Regions from separate parts of the Homo sapiens genome. Here region 1 is linked to region 2. The links are contacts of gene promoters, found by promoter capture Hi-C in human tissues and cell types (Jung and others, 2019). All regions are on one chromosome and are shown on one strand. The core of a region is centred on a gene start or on the middle of the fragment in contact, and the rest is flanking DNA. Distances in the headings are between cores, read along the strand shown.

Evidence for each region. Contacts are between HindIII fragments. The study calls those that stand out against the background at their distance.
Region 1: a contact is called between a fragment that was not itself captured here and the fragment with the promoter of PDGFRL in region 2, in 1 of the 25 tissues and cell types used here (dorsolateral prefrontal cortex).

What each region holds. Positions count from the first base shown.
Region 1 is chr8:17,230,880-17,234,652 of GRCh38, forward strand. It overlaps CNOT7 (CCR4-NOT transcription complex subunit 7), which reads right to left. Exons shown (of 7, transcript NM_013354.7): 6 at 1,548-1,658. Among named protein-coding and RNA genes, the nearest start is that of CNOT7, 14 kb to the right of the region's middle. RefSeq lists an enhancer at 2,254-2,756. The HindIII fragment of the contact is 7,978 bases long and covers 1-3,773 here.
Region 2 is chr8:17,575,258-17,578,875 of GRCh38, forward strand. It overlaps PDGFRL (platelet derived growth factor receptor like), which reads left to right and starts at 1,959. Exons shown (of 6, transcript NM_001372073.1): 1 at 1,959-2,050. The coding sequence starts at 1,996. RefSeq lists silencers at 2,165-2,224, 2,315-2,364. The HindIII fragment of the contact is 19,467 bases long and covers 1-3,618 here.

The sequences.
Region 1 (3,773 bases), core at 924-3,423, 340 kb before region 2:
TAATTTTAACCAAAAGGAACCACTTGTAATTTATATTTCAGCAATGTAAGTACTGACTGTTCACTGACAATAATGATGGCTCTTTTCTATGGTGTTCCTTTGAGGCTACGCATTTCAGTTCAATGAGTAAGACTAATGTCCTCAAAAGTACAGAGCTCAGAAACCAAAGAAAGAGACTACAAAAAAAGTGTATAAATGCATGTCTTTTCCATTTAGACCATTTTTATAAGAATTTTTCATCATGGAAAAATAACTATTCCATTAATTTAACAATACTCAAGAATGAAGAAAGCCAATGATGGTGGGGGAAAAAAAGTTTAGGTTCATAAACTGTCTTAAATCTGTATGCAAGGCTGAGCTGGCTATAAATGATCAAACCATAAAGTCATGGACAGTAAAATCCAAACATTCACACTCTATTACTGTCCTTGAAGAAGCCAAGAAAAATAAAGATAAATTAGTGCCAGAAATCCACCTTTAGTTAAATAAACCATTAAGACATTTTTAAAATGCAAAGCTAAAAAATCCAAAAGGTTGTTTCAATTATCTAATGAAACAATTGGAAGGAGTCCAAAACAAAATATTTACGTGTCATGAATGGATAGTCCAAATCACTTCTGAATCAACAACACTACTTAGCAAAACAGCTTTAATGCTTTCTATTATCAATACATTGCTACAAAAAGTTTTAAATTCTCAGTCTCAATTTAATGTCTAAGAGAAAATATACTCAAATCCACAGCGAATTTTTCCAAAAGGGAAAACTTATAGTCAAGAAAAACCTCACTTGTTTTTTGCACAACCAATTTTCCTGTTTACCTATAGCTAGGTGTATCTGTGCACATCACTTAATTACTTAGGAGTAGATAATGGGTTCATTTAGTTTCATTCTTCCATCCCTAACACTTTATACTCAAGGAACTGATCTCTGCCTTTTGCCGTTTAAGGAGGGTTTTCCTAATATGGTTTCTGATGCAACTACTACGTTGGATTTATTTGATCCCTTCGGAATTCAACCCCCCTTTTAAGACTCAATGCAGTAAAAGAGCCTGAGTTCTTCTCTATAAAATCTTCAAAGCACTGAAGAATGACATGAGCAAATAATATATTTATCACCAGTTTAAACCTTAAAAGGGGTCATGCTAGAATAAACCTAATATAAAGATTCCTTGCCTTGTAGGAGGAGCACCAATGGGAGTCAGAAAAGAACTCTGGAGTTCTCCCACTAGTAATGTGTTTAATCATGGAAGTTATTAGCCTGTTTTCTCACCTGAGAAATAATATGGTTGGACCTACATGACTTCTCAGGTAGTTTATGTTTTAAAATTGTTGGTTCTATGATGAACATGTTCTCCCAGTTCCTTCTGAACTACATTTCAAGATGACTTATTTTTGAATACTTTTAAGTGTGGTGGATGTGACTCATATGGTATCTCTAATTATATCTTTACTTAGTAGGTACTTGTTGCCCAAAATCTTTGGCCACAAGATTTTTAATGTTCTCAACCTAACAACCAACTGAGAAAAAGGCAGTGATGTCTTCATACTTCTCTCATTTTGAAAAAGGCCATTCCTGTGAGCAATGAATCAGATCCTGCCTGATGTTGTGGTCCTATCCGTTCCAGCTCTAACTGTTCTGCCACCTCCTGTAATCCACCCTAGAAAAAATAAAAAATTGCTTGTCAAGAAGAAAAATCTTACAAGGCCTAAATTCACAAATTATAAACTTAGACGCTGACCAAAATAAAAATAAACTTTAGTATGTAAAGGTGAATCTTATAAAGATTGGGGGGAAGAAACAGAGAATGTGAATTACTAATGTATTTGTTGAATGCGGAAAAAGTATCATTTAATAGAAAACAAGATCCTAATTGGGAAAATGTATTTTCATCATGTTTTAGGGCATATGACAGGTAAATACTCTCCTAGATATGGGAAGGAAGCAGACCACATATAGGGTAATATTTATCAAGTACACTCATAGTCTATCAATCCAGTAATAATTATAAAACTGAAAAGCTAGTATAACACCATTTTTTTCATATTTTCTTAAACTTCCCACCATCCATTTGTAGTTTTCACTTAATTTTTACAAAACAAAGCCATTATGAATAATCATTAAGAGTATGCTAAATGCTTCACTATGGTTTTCTTAGTTAAGACGAGTATATGCACACAACTCCTTAGAGTGGTCTGCTATAATCCACCTATGTTAATACTCCTAAGATTAAAAAAGAAAGATGAGAGTGGAAAGAGTGGAAAGAAAGAAAGAGAAAGACAGTAACAGAAGGAAAGAAAGTGGGAGGACAGGCAAGGAGAGTAAAGGGAGGGGAGAATAAGTAGAGCGTGAAGGAAAGAAACACCAACAACAAAACAAAAATTCTTCTCTAACTTGTTAAGGCCTCCACCGGCAAAATGGCCCTTCTGTGCATCACAGCTTGAAACAAGGCTTTGCACAGCAGTTGCTTCTGCGCTAAAAATAGCACGAGGATTAGGTATCGTTAGCAGCTGCTTAGGAGAACAGAACTAGAACTGAATAGAACAGCATGGCTGACTATAGGTCAAAAAGCACCTTTGTCGTTAACCTGAATTTTAACACAGCAGCTTACTCAGGACACATTCAGAATATCTGTACTTAGAAACTTCCCAGTAACAACCACATGATGAGCAATAATTTGGTTCCCTGTTCCTGAAAACTATCATTATACAGACATGTCAATTAAAAAAAAAGTCAGATGAAAACATGTAGGCCTCAGCATGCAGTGCTTTCACAGGGTGGGCTGAATTTCTCAAGCAAGGGATACCCTACTGCAAGTTCACTTCCTGGAAGTCCCCTCAAATTACACAGAAGTCTACTGCTACAAACATAAAATAATCTTTCTTGAAAATTTCTCTAGTCATATGCTGACCATATCATGTATTAAAGGTAAACACTGGCCAAAAGAAAGCTTCTCATCTTCAGTTATCTGTTAAGACCAGCGTGACCAACACGGTAAAACCCCGACTCTACTAAAAATACGAAATTTAGCTGGGTGTGGTGATGGACACCTGTTAATTCCAGCTACACAGGAGGCTGAGGCAGGAGAATCACTTGAACCCGGGAGGCGGAGGTTGCAGTGAGCCGAGACCACGCCACTGCACTCCAGCCTGGGCGACAAGAGCAAGGCTCCGTCTCAAAAACAAAAAAAGAATTAATGTTTAGAATTTAAAAATACATGTTATGCAGCGTCAAAATGTTACTACTATCTAGGCAGGACCTACACATTTCCCATAGTACTTAACTGTAACAAGCTGACATCTTTTGGCCACAGAAAAATCTTTTAGCTATATAGTTTAATCCTAGGAGCATTATCCTATCACTAGAACTGACAAAATAATTTCTAGCCAAGATAAGCCAAAAGGAAAGAAAAACTTTTGCCACACTACTAAATACATCTGCATATCGCTGGCCACCTTAGATTCCACCTTGTAAGAACAGATTCTATGCGTCTTGGGAGAAAGTAACAACTCACAATGGCGTGCATATGAGAGCCTCAATGTCCTCAGATTTGTGTTTTGGTTTGTGATTTTCAATCTGGCAAGCAGTGACAAGAACCGGACCTAAGCCTGAAATGTGTTGAAAATTCTGCCTTCTGCCAAGACATACTGAAGCTCTGAAAAAAGGATTCCCTACAAATTATGTATGCAAGAAAAAAAATCACATGACCAGATAATATAATTGCATTCACTGTAATACTTTAAAATATGGTTTAAAACAACATCCCAGCCTAGGC
Region 2 (3,618 bases), core at 709-3,208:
GGCTAAATGTAGCTGAGCCAGGGCAGTGAAGCTTGACAATAATGGCACAAGAGAGGTGGACCTGGCACATGCATAGTCAGCATGGAGGGGATACTGCGACCGAGAGGAGGAATCTAGACCCAACCCCAGGCTCCAACATGGAGTGAGAGTTAAGCAGTCAATTCATGGGGTCAGAATGAAAAGAAATCTCACGGTGGGGCAATTTAGGCAGATTTACTCTCTCCTGTGTGCATGCTCCAAGTCCTTTGCTCAGAATTCTCCCCAGAACCTGACACACCACATTGCAGTGGTCTAAATGCTTGTTCACTCCTTAAAAGTAGCCATGAGAGATGATGTCTCAACCTTCATAGCCGTAATGTTAATCACATAGCAAACTCCTGTTGAAATAATCACCTAGTTCCCTTTCTTAATAAACAAGAGATGCTAAAACCCAGAAGGTTAAGTGAATTCTGAGAGGCATGGAGAGTTTGTGCCAGTGTCAGCATCTGAACTCTGGTCTTTATTCCCAGCCAACTGCTCTCTGCATCGCAAGGCAAGCGAGTGGCAAAGCTCCGGCTAGAGCTGGCAACAGAATATAGAATTCTTGGTTCCTCCTGCAGAAGTGACTGAGAAGCATTAGTTTGTTATAAATGGCAGCACTTCTTTCGTTGGGTGTTGAGGGACAAGTCCCTTTCCTGTTATTTAGAATTGAGCTCCCTTTAATAGCAGTGCCTGGTGCTGAAGATTACAATGAGATGGGCTGCTTCTCACCGGGGGAACACACACAGGCATCTCCCCCGCTAGCAAACTGCTTTGATCATGAGAGTCTGCAAGCTCAGAAACGCAGGATGGCTCTCTGCAGAGGGACTTGTGAAAGCCCGTATCTTCTGCCCCACTGTTACCTGATAGAGTTGTCCAGGTTCTTGGCCTGTTGAACAAAAAATTGAACGAAATGCACGGAGTAACGAAAGAAAGAAGCAAGGAAAAACAAAGCAACAGAAGGGAGGAAGGAAAACGTAGATTTATAGAAGACAATTCACAGAGGGCGCTGCAGCAAGCCACAAGAGCCTGACGCTCCCCAGGGATTTTATAAAGCGAAAAGAACTTGGCAACACCCTTGGGTTCCCTTTAGAGGCCTCCAACTGGTTACACCTTACGAAGGACTGGCCTGCGACCAGTCCGAGGCTGAAGTGGAAACTTCTGCCTTGTTATCAGAGGAGCGAGGATGTGGCCTGTGTGCCGCCTAATCATGCCTAGAACTGTCTGCACCTGCTGATCTTTTGCTTCTGCGAACTGGCTGCACCTGCTGTTCTCCTGCTCATACCCTAGCCCGTGCTTACCCTAATTCCCTGTTCTCCTGCCTCACCACCAGAGGCCCGGGTTGTCTGCACAGTCTCATTTTCCACGTTATTCCTGTAATGAACCCGTCCTCCCACCCCCACCAGCAGTTACAGGGCTGGGTGCGGAGACCAACTCTGGCCAGACACAGAGGAGCAGCAAGAACCCGGGGCAACGGTCCTGTGAGTGAGTGCATGTGGGGGAGAGAAATGGAATGAACAGAAATAATTTAGGAAGCACTTTTTACAGAGCACTCAGGTTCTGCCTGAGGAGGTGGGGCGGGCGCTGGTAACATTTGGACAATCGTGGTTAAAAGTGACCCCATCAGCACCCGCTGATCCTTCTTGAACTTGATAACCTTGGTGAAAACGCCAAGCGTTGGAGAAATTCAAGGAATGGCTGTTGTAATGTACATTTCACGCTTAGCCTTTCCTCCCCGCGCTGGGAAGAAGTGCTGCGCACCGCGGCTCCGCCAGGGGGCAGGAGAAGTCACATTACACAGAGAACTAAAAAAAAAAAAAATTCCCCAACTTTTTCCCCCAAACCTTGTTCCTCCTGAAGAAACCGAATCCTCCCGCTTCGGCGTCCCAGGAGCCCGCCCCTCGCCCGCCGCCTCCCCTGCGTCCCCGCCCCGCGCAGCCGCCGCGCTCCTGCGCTCCGAGGTCCGAGGTTCCCGAGATGAAGGTCTGGCTGCTGCTTGGTCTTCTGCTGGTGCACGAAGCGCTGGAGGATGGTGAGTGACTCTGGGCGCGGGGCCACCTAGCTTGTGCCCTGACTTTAGCCGGGACCCGAAGCCCCCGCCGCCCTCCTGCCAGCTCTTGGTCTAACGTTCGGCCCTCGGTGGCTCAGCCCCCGCGCCACTGCCTGCCCGGTGCACCTGCCCCCTCCTGGTGGGGTCTCCTTTCCTCCCACTCTTTGCCTGCCCGGAGAGCCCTCTAGGGGTGGTGGCAGCTACCCCGACCCTTAGGAGCCCACCAGGACCTCTCCAAGTCCCCATCTCCGGGCGAACCAAGCATCCCCAGCCAGCGCCTGGTCCAGCCCCCAGTGTCAACGTGTCGGTCTGGGAGGTGGGGCGGGAGCCTCGGATCGCTTCCACCTCCCAGCGGCGTGGCTGGGACCTCTGCTGCTGAGAGCGAGTGCCACCTAAGCTCGGCAATCGCTGATTCGGTTGCAGAGTTCCAGGTGACCTCCCCCTCCCCTCGCAGTTCTGGGCGTGTTTTCGTCTACCACCTTTTGCTTGAATCCTGCAAGATCTGCCTAGATCTTCGAACAAAAATGTCAGTGTATGAAACTTCAAAACGAATCAAAAGCCCACGGCTTATTATATTTATCTAATTGGATGGGAAATGGTGAAGAAAATGCATTTTTTTGGTACAGCTTATGGGACCATGACCGCTGCGCGTTTTTGAATGTGTACCTGTCCTGGGTCCACCCTGTCGTGTACACCCGTGACCACAGGGTCTGGTGTTATTTTTCTGTGTGTCTGGGTGTGTGTATTACTGTGGTGTGTATTATATATTATTGTTAGCATTTAAATGTTTTGTTTGCTCTATTCACTCCATGGGTGTTATTTGTACAGTACATGTTTCATCTGGGTGCCTCCTGGTGTCCTCAACCCTCTCTTGAAATTCCTGGGCTACAACACAATTTTTGCTTAGATTTAGTGGAAAAGTAGCTTTTGCTGTTATGCAACTTCATGCTGGAGCCAGCTCGACCTGGCTCACATTTTTATCCACTCGTTCATCCTGACCAGTTCCTTTCTTTCCTAGGAAACTACATTTGCCAAAAAAATACCGCATTGTAGTTTGCAAAATCCAAGATAGTCGTGGTACTTGAAGTTGAGCATGAGGGTCCTTCAGCCTAGAGCTTTGCTTAATAAAACGTAGGCAGAGCTTCTACTGGGAGAGTAACACTTAACTCTGCCCAGAGAGAAGTTGCCATGAGTTCAGTTTGTAAAATGCAATATTAAAATGCTCCTGGCAGGCCCTTGTGTGCAACCGCTGAAAAGGCAGAAATGTAATTTGTAGTATCATTTTTTGAATAGGGCAGGAGATGGCCAGGCAAAATAATTTCAAATCAGCCATTCCTTTGTTTATACCCAACTTGCCAGTCTTAGAGGCTCAGAAATTGACTTCCATTCTGCCTCCTGGATCTCACCCAGCCCATGTGAGTTTATTACAAACATCTGACTAAATTTACCCTTTCTTTAAGTGTAATCCATACAAACAATAAGCATTTATGAGACAATTGGAGAAAGTGGAATACAGACTGAATGTAAGAAATAGTTCATAAATTTTAGGT